Linked DNA regions of Homo sapiens: region 1 is linked to region 2. Evidence: promoter capture Hi-C in human tissues and cell types (Jung and others, 2019). All regions are on one chromosome and are shown on one strand. Each heading gives the region's core, a stretch centred on a gene start or on the middle of the fragment in contact. The rest is flanking DNA. Distances are from core to core; before and after follow the strand shown. Region 1 overlaps PCCA (propionyl-CoA carboxylase subunit alpha). Region 2 holds the start of GPR18 (G protein-coupled receptor 18).

Region 1 (4,607 bases), core at 140-2,639, 1.3 Mb after region 2:
TCTCTCATGGATGAGGTGGTGATTCCGTTTTGTATCTCAGGTCACTGGGACTTACATTTTAGTGCCTCCTGATTTCTCAATAGTACAGATAAAATATCTGCTTAACATTGAGGAAAAAATCAGGTAGTTGGCATTGGCTTCTAGAAAAGTATTTGCAATAAATGTGAATATTAAGAAAACATGATCAGTTTTAGTTGTTTGAATGACCAGCCCTGAAACTAATATGCGAAGTTAGAAAACCGACTTAACAGCTGCTTTACCTGGTGATACAGAAATAGAACTGTCCACTTTTTCAGAAAGGCATAAAAGAGGCTACGTGGCTGTGAATTGTTGTTTGCTGTGAAAGCATTGATACTCCTGGAAGAAAGCCCTCTTTAAGACTGTCTAATGCCCACGTGTTAAGGATTTGGGAGAGGCCATAAGAAAAATTACGTGTGTGTGTGTGTGTGTGTGTGTAATGTGTGTAAAATTCAGGGGAGGACATCTTCCTTCTCCAGAGTTAGGGTCGTAAGAGGATAGTCTCGTGGCCTTGACATTAAGAATCGTTCACTTGCACGTGACATTATCAGAGCTGTCAGTGGAATCTTCTAGTGACTAGATATGTAGGTTCGTAAACAATATAAGGGTTTTGTTTTGTTTTTTTCATTTTTCTTAAGTTTTTTTTCTGGAAGGCATCTATCTAGTCTGTATACTGCCAGCCTGAGCTTTCCACTCCTAATTGTGTGGCTTTAATTATAAAATCGTGTGTGTGTGTGTGTGTGTGTGTGTGTGTGTGTGTGTGTGTGTTTCAAGTAAGTGTTTTCCTTAAATCCTTTTCTAACACCTGAATCCAAACCGGAGTGGAGGGAGGGCGGGCAGGGATGAGGGAGACCACTCCTGCCTCAAGCCTGGAGGGCAAGAGGGTGAGACTGCAGCCCTGGCCCCTCACACGGCCCTCAAGGAGGTTGCTCAGAGGCAGTAAACGGGGCGCTCCCAAGGCCAGATCAGCGCAGCCTTCTGGTTTCTTTAACAGCTGCTGGCTCCTGATCTGACTTTCCCACATACCGAAAGGGTTTGGCCTTTGTACGTTCCATTTCCTGGTTAATAATTGAATGTAGAAAAGCAAGGCATTTCGTAAATGGGAACAATGTGATATCAGTCCTTGGTTCATTGATGTAGCTCAGATATTAAAAACACCCACCAATAATTAAATGTGTGTACTCATTAAGAATGGTTTGAGAACTGTTAAAAATATGTTACGGCAGAGCAACGGGGCCTATATTTTATGCATTCCTTTAAATTCAGAGTACCTGGGGGGCACGCGTAGTGAACAGGCTCAGGACCTCGGGATCTGTCAGCTCCCTCCTAAGTTCTGTTTGCGGGGGCTGCTCAGGTGGGGCGTATACTTGCTTTTATTTGTCTTTTTTGGTACTTGCAGAACTTCCTTTCATATTCTGTGCCATTGTGTTTTGATGAAACAGCCTTTTCTCTTGAATTACTGCTTGTGAAAAATGTCCCAAACCACTAATACCGAAACCCAATGCAGCCTGAGAAGTTTCATCGTCGGCTCTTAGCGCAACTTCTATAGTTAAATTCTGCTTAGTGTAATTAAAACACAAGAAGCTTCCTTGGACCAGAGGCACGTCACTTACTTGAGGCCATTGTGAGGAAACACTACCTGTCACGTTGAAATTTTGCGGTTTTAAGTGATTTTAACACCGCGGGGCGTGTTGTGTTTTCCTCCGCACTAACAATAGCCGGGCGAGGTTCCCCTTTTATGGGTGGGAAGATAATGGAGTCAGTCTCCTTGGTGTATTTTCAAGGAAAATAAGGACCCTAAAACAACTAAGGGCCTTACAAGTATTCTGTTTTTCTTTGAAATGTTACTTTTTATCGTTTAAATTCCAGTAATCTATCATGTTTCTGTTTAGCTTAGCTGAAGTAAAACTTGACCAATCGTAGAATGGTGGGCCTGGCAATAAGTTCTAAAAAAAGTGTCACATAAATCGTAATGAACAAATCTGTTTTGTGAAGTAAACAATTTGAACACAGTTTAAAAACCTCAGGAAGAAGAGATGTGGGGTGGCCGTTGAGAAGTAGTGAATCCGCTCGGGGCGCTTGGTGTGGCAGGGCCTTGTGCACTGATTCATTTGAAACACTCAGCCTGCCCTAAACACAGAAGCTGTGTTTTATTTGAAGGGCTTCTGTAGGGTTCACACAGCAAAAGTTCCTAATAACTTTTTCAGTGTCTGTTATATACTATTTAACATTAAATGTGGCAGGTCACATTTTAAATGATTGTGTAATAGTTTTTCCGAACACGTGGAGAGAGGATGTTAATACACAGTAAAATGCAGGTAAGCAAACAAATCAATAAGAAAGTACAGTGGATTATTAAGGTCCAGAATCAGTAATATAATTTAGGAAACAACTGATAGAATAAATTTTAGTGCCTTTTTATATGCCTTCTGAAAATGTTTCTGCAGTAACTCATTTCAGTTTGAAAACTCGTTTTCTTAGACTCGTAACACTATTGTAAACTGGGAGCACTTCTGTAATCAAAGTTAGCATGACTCAGCTGTTTCAAACTTCTACCTTTATGATACTCTTGAACAGAAATGTTAGAAATATATATATTTTCAGAATAACGGTAGAATACATTTTTCCACATGTCAAATTAGACTTATAGCTGCTGAATTTATTGCATAATTTTCACTTTGACTTTGAAGTCAAATAAAGTCATGATGAGCACATTCGCTTTGTTAGCCTTTTGATATCAGAAACAAAACCACCCCATAAGATAGTCACCCAAGGAGGCATTTTAATATTGCATTTAGTTAAGATTCTTTCAAGTAATGTTCGTATTCTGCAGTCATCACAGATTTGCATCAGAAATACTCATTTAATACACCAAACAAATGAGAAACAAACCATAAGCTGCTATATACTCATCTGCATTTCTTTCTTTCTTAACAATTAGTGAAACCAGGTGAAAGAATAGATTGAAATTAAGTACCTGTTGCTGCTTTTTCTTGCGAATTAGCCCATTCGATATTAGACTTCGGGATATTTTGGTGGGGCTAAGATGAAAAGATCCACCTCGTGATGGAATTGACCTTCAGCAGGGGACAGTGAGGTGTCTGCGGTTGTTCCTCTTGTGAACAACGCCTTAAAGGCGAGAAACAGCCTACTGTACAGTGTGCCAGGGAAAGCATCACATCGGTGGGCGTCGGTGGCAACACCACTTACACTTCACCCTGATTTTGTTTCCTCCTTGCACGTGCTCCTTTGACAGGGCAGGCTCCCAAGCAGGTGTGCAGTCAGGGCCACAAGACACAGGCACCCCATCCCATCTCAGAGTCTGACGTCCCCTCCTCCCCTTTGTCTCTAAGCCTCATGTAACTGAGCTTATAGCCGACCATACAGAACTGGCAAACTTGGTGAGATACCTTTATTTTTTATTTCTTAAACAAGATTTTAAAATTTCATAAGCTCTCACGTATCCTAACGAGAAGGCAGGGCTGGGCCCTCCCGACGGGTGTTTGCCTGGCATCGCGCTTGTGTGCCTCATGCAGCCCAGGCTCGCTCACTGCATCTTTCCCTGGCAGAGGGGCTAGCCTGGCTGCTTCATAGACTTTCCAGTTTCTGGATACCTTGATTTACAATCACAAAATAATTGCAGTAATTAAATTTATATGTTTTATAGCAATAGTTATTCAAGCAGTTTATTTGACAAGATGCCAGTTTTCACCCAAACCTCAGATTGTATCTCACAGCATGTACACAGAGATCCATGCATTTGTTAACATTTTAAGACTTTAAAATTATGAAATACTACAAACATGCAGAAAGTTACAGAGAAGAATCCAACAAGCACTCCTGTGCCCTTTGTTCACCATTTCCATATGTGTTTCAAATTTTATTTAACAATGAGACATTACATATAACATGAACTTCCCCTGTGGCAAGCTCCTCCATCTCATTCCTGTCCTGTCTTCTTCAGAGGTAACGACTACCCCTGGATTTGGCCTTTTAATCTTTTCCAGATAACATTTATTTTTAAATGTTAAGAGTTGGTTTTTGGCCGGGCGCGGTGGCTCACGCCTGTAATCCCAGCACTTTGGGAGGCCGAGGCGGGCGGATCACGAGGTCAGGAGATCGAGACCACGGTGAAACCCCGTCTCTACTAAAAATACAAAAAATTAGCCGGGCGCAGTGGCGGGCGCCTGTAGTCCCAGCTACTCGGGAGGCTGAGGCAGGAGAATGGCGTGAACCCGGAAGGCGGAGCTTGCAGTGAGCGGAGATCGCGCCACAGCACTCCAGCCTGGGCGACAGAGCGAGACTCCGTCTCAAAAAAAAAAAAAAAAAAAAAAAGAGTTGGTTTTTGTTGGAGGTAACAAATATCTATTAGTAGATAAGAGGAGGCAGAAAAAGATGAGGAGGTAAAAAAATATCTATTAGTACTGGGAATTTTTACAGTTGAATATACTCAATGATAATTATAAAATAAAAAATATTTATGTGGATCAGTATATTAAATATTATAGGAGAGTCTTCTCCAAGCTTGGCGTTTGATTTTTCAGGAGTGATCTGCTTGGGAGTAGAAGGTGTTTTCTTTGTTTTCAACA
Region 2 (4,607 bases), core at 1,816-4,315:
GCACGTTCACAGCTTTTAGATAGATGATGTCAGAAATCTTGAGGCAGGTGGCGGGAGTGGAGTCTTTATCTGGGTCTTTATAGAGCAGTAGCAGAGGGGTGGTCGTGGTCAGGGTCATTATCCAGACTCCCACACACGCCAGCACGGCTTTGCACGTGTTTTTAAGTTCTTTGGCGTACTTCGGCTGTACAATGGCCATGTATCTGTCAGCACTAATAAAGGCAAGAAGCCATAAAGCAATGCTTGGGTAAAACACTGTGAGAGCTCCAAGAATCTGGCAGAAGTACTCTCCAAATGGCCATTCATCTTTTGCATAATAAAACATTCGAAAGGGTAAAGTCATTATAAATATCAAGTCCACTAATGCCACATTCATCATATAGATGGTTACCGTGGTTCTCTTCTTGGTGGTACAACTGAAAACCCATAATGCAGTGATGTTAACAAATAATCCAATTATGAAGATACAGCTATAGAAGACAAGGGCTGCAATTTTGTATTCATCTGGATGTGAGCTGTTAAAAGGGACAGGTTGATCTTGATTGTTCAGGGTGATCATTTTACAGCTTGTTGGTAGGCATGATACTTAGAAACTGTAAAAATAGTTAAGAAAAATAAGAATAAAATCGTTGGTTAAAAAATAAATGCTTAACATTCTCCCACTCAGCTTGACTGCCAGTGAATTTTAAGTTCGAGAGCATTTAATCAAGGAACGATTCAACTGGTTAACTACTGAACATTCACAGTAATTCTCATTTGAGAGAGAATGGGAACTTTTCCTTTGTTACAGCTATAGCCCCACTGTCTATTGAGCATGTAATAGGTACTCAATAAATAAATATTTACTGAATTGATGAATAAATGAAGGAACTTTTGATGAGATGATTCACAGCAACTCTACTTTGCTAAAAAACTCTAGTTTGTAATTCTCTAGTTTGAAAATGAAGACTTGTGTAGCTGGCTATTAAACTTTTTGTTTTTTTTAAAGTGGAAACACTTCATAATATTTATTACCTTATGTTCTCTTTAAATTATCATAGGTTGAGAAACAGCAATGTTTTGTGTCATGGTCAGCAGATCAAGAACTAGACTGTTAGAGCAATAGATGAGCTGTTTTCTAGTGCACAATTGGGAGTACGTAAAGCCAAGTCTTCCAGGTTTTGTGATTTCAGCTGCTCTACTTCAGTGGTTCACAGAAAGCAGCACCTTGAAAAAAGCTAGTGCCGTTAGTAACTTTCATATCCTCATTCCATCTAGATTCAGAAGCTTCAATATTATTTAAATTTTAACAATTTTCAAAGTAAATCCAAAAAAGGAGTATCTAAGACAAGTAGATATTAATAAGAAGTCATTCAGTAACTTGATGTGTATGTAGAAACTTATAAATTTCCATCACCAAAAAAAAAAAAACCGTCCATTTTAAATGGAAAGGAGGTTATTTGGGGTTGCAAATATCATTGACTCCTCAGTGTGAAACTTCATTCCCCCATGATGCAACACCAACAACAGACTTCAAAAATAGACTTTGCTGCAATGAGATGGAATCTGTGGCATCCCCTTGTAATATGGAGGTGGATGAAAAGTTTCCTTCAAAAATGTCACTTTGCAGAGTGGGCTGTCTTGAAATCAGCCCAGAATTTCTCTTTAAGGAAAACTATGGGGGAGATTTGCTGTCTGTGGTCAGTGGCATCACGGGCTATTGATAATTAAGAATTAACTTGAGCAATTGCTGTGGTTAAACACAAGAAACGTGCCTGTCTGCCTTCCTTCCTTTCCCTTCCCTTCCCTTCCCTTTCTTCCCTTCTTCTCCTTCTTTCCTTCTCAAATATTTAGGTTAAATATGATTTAGGAGCATAATTCTATATATTTAAAAACATATTAAATTTTCCAAATATTGGTGTGACTAGAATATTAATTTCTATCAAATGAGGAAAGTGCTACAGAGAAAAATTATATCTCTAGTGTCATTCAAAGGAGAGTAATCTTGGAGGCTTAAATCTTATTTTTAACTGGAATGCATTCTTATTAAATAGTAGCAATTATAATATAAATGAAATTTTGTATTTGTTTTTCTTTTTTTAGTATTGCATCAGGACTCCCTTCACCTATCCTCATCCTTCAATTTTGTGACATAAGTCCTGTACTTACAAACCATCTTGAGTCTTTTTTCCCACGTTATGCTCAAGCTGTTTTTATGTAGCTTGTCACCAATACTTATATTCATTTGCTGACGTTTGAAAAAAAATGAGTGATGCATGTGTTTTAAAGGCATTATAGTATTGATTGTGCTCTGCAAACACAGAAATTTTTGGATAAATATTGAAAAGTGATTGACTTTAAAGTCAGCTTTTTAAAAGCTATAGATACCATGATTATCTGTAGCTTTTCTTTTCTTAAAAACCATTAAGTTATTTCATGAAACAATGTAATTGAAAACATGTGATGAACATTCCTAAATATACATATGATTTACCATAAACATTTTCTTTCCTTAAGTTGAAAAAAATTACATTTAGTATTAATGTAAAGCAATATTGAAAATAAATGTAAAATCATATTAATGTGGAAAGATGATTATATAGCCTATTTCAAGGTCTTTCACCAACATAGTTTGTTATGTTTATTTTTTTAATTAAATATATTTTTTTAATAGAGACGGGGTCTCACTATGGTGCTCCTGGGCACAACTGATCCTCCTGCCTTGGCCTCCCAAAGTGTTGGAGTTACAGGCGTGGGCCATTGCGCCCAGCCTGTATTATTAAAATGAAATGATTTTTGAAATGCAGTACATAAAGCATTACTTTTGACAATAATCATGAAGTTAATTAAATGCTGCTTACCTCCTGTCCATCAAAAGTCTGTGTGAGAGATGAGCATTTTTCAGCACTTCCACTTCTGTCGAAGGGATATCTTTGAGTTGCTTCTGTTAAAATAGCTCTTTCTGGAAACAGTGTATTTAAGAAATGTTGTATTTTGTTTTAGACTCTTTTGTTGCTTTAAAAAGTAGTTTCCAGTGTAACGCTTGGCGTCGGAGTTGGTGCTGGGCTGACTTTAATTGCTGCTTTGTCTCTTTCAGGAAGTGCTCTCTGAAATAGGCTTTTTCACCTTATGACTTTACCCTGGATGTGGTTTTTCTCTTTCACAAATGATTTGTTTATGAAGTCACACTTAGCATAAGCTCCCCTTGAAATGATGGCATATATTTAAGATAATTATATACAAAGGATAAAGTTTCTTCAGTTTGTGTACTTTGATGCTTGAAGTCTGCATCATCTATGGAAAGAGAAGATTTGATATTGAGTAAAAGGGGGTTTAAAGTCTAGCTTCTTTGCTTTATAAGCTATGTGACTTTGTCTAGTTACCTACCCACTCTGACTAACCCTTTGTTCCTACTTCATTTCTGTACAGTTGAAATAGAGATAATACTATATCCAGTAGGATTGTAGGGGCCCTAAACCAGAAAGATCCCAAGTGCTTAATAGTACCTGGCACTTAGTAGGTACTCCTAAATGGAGTCTCACTTTTTACTACCAAGTTATTAAAAATCATAGAATATCCACATTTCCACTTTTTACTATTTAAACATTTCTAAATGCTTAAAAGTAGGATCCTTGATTAATTGCTTCTGCTTTGCCACATACATTTATCCACTTTAGTTTGCTGTATTTTGTAAGTCTGCTTTTCTAGTGCGTGGAAGTCTAGAAATAATTTCTTTTGCATAAAAATTTCTGCAAATCTTAGCAGAAAGGACTCTGAAGTCTTTAGTGGACTGATTTACATATTAAGAGTGTTTTCACCTAAGAAGGGAAATGAAACCAGCAGAAAGGGAAGTGAGCAACGAATCGCTGCCTGCCTTGTTAGGTTAATTTTGTTTTACTTTCTCATTTCTTAAAAAAAATTATCTCTCATTTGCTTATCCTAAAATTTTAATTATCTTTATGTTTGGTTATGCATGGTTTGTCAACTTTTTAAAGGGTTCATGAACTTAAATGTATTTGTTTTTTTGAATTTTAGACAGTTTGGGGTCCATCCTTTTTTTTTTTTTTCTCAGACAAAACCATAGTAAATCTGTGGCTTAGAAAAGTTACTTAAATCCTTGCCTTTGGTGATAAAATACTTTTGATTGTTACAACCTGCCAGAATGATGGGTTTTAGAAGTGTTGGAGACAACCATAGCAACTATTTCTTGTGTGGATGAAGAAATTGAAGGCCAGTTACTTGCTTAAGAACTCAAGGTAAAGCCAGGTCCAGTTTCTCCCGCTGTAATAACTTCTTATGAGGTAATTATATTGATCTGTCCACTAGATAGGACTTCTTATGGCTGAATCACATTCATCAGTTTTTTATATGTGATGTTATATTTCATTCATCACACAGGAGTTTGATGTTTCAGCTGGACAGAAATCTGCCTGCATGCAGACCTAATCTGTCCTTTGCCTTATTCACATAGCTTAGGACTTTTCTAAAATTAAGTATTGATTAGCTTCCCCATTGCTGCTAAAATCAACAGATACATTGATGGCATGTGTCTAGAAGAGTCCTTTCATCAAGACTTGAATTCTTCACGGTGCACAGGGGCATTCTTGTTTCTGAATTGCCAGACTCTT

Evidence for each region. Contacts are between HindIII fragments. The study calls those that stand out against the background at their distance.
Region 1: a contact is called between a fragment that was not itself captured here and the fragment with the promoter of GPR18 in region 2, in 1 of the 25 tissues and cell types used here (spleen).

What each region holds. Positions count from the first base shown.
Region 1 is chr13:100,516,305-100,520,911 of GRCh38, forward strand. All of the region lies in intron 22 of PCCA (propionyl-CoA carboxylase subunit alpha), which reads left to right. Among named protein-coding and RNA genes, the nearest start is that of PCCA-AS1, 38 kb to the left of the region's middle. RefSeq lists enhancers at 758-1,482, 931-1,225, 2,933-3,598 and a silencer at 931-1,225. The HindIII fragment of the contact is 3,366 bases long and covers 1-3,072 here.
Region 2 is chr13:99,255,314-99,259,920 of GRCh38, forward strand. It overlaps GPR18 (G protein-coupled receptor 18), which reads right to left and starts at 3,066. Exons shown (of 2, transcript NM_001098200.2): 1 at 2,841-3,066; 2 at 1-593. The coding sequence starts at 559. All of the region lies in intron 4 of UBAC2 (UBA domain containing 2), which reads left to right. It overlaps LOC124903198 (a long non-coding RNA gene), which reads right to left. Exons shown (of 3, transcript XR_007063846.1): 3 at 3,126-3,273. The HindIII fragment of the contact is 6,968 bases long and covers 3,053-4,607 here.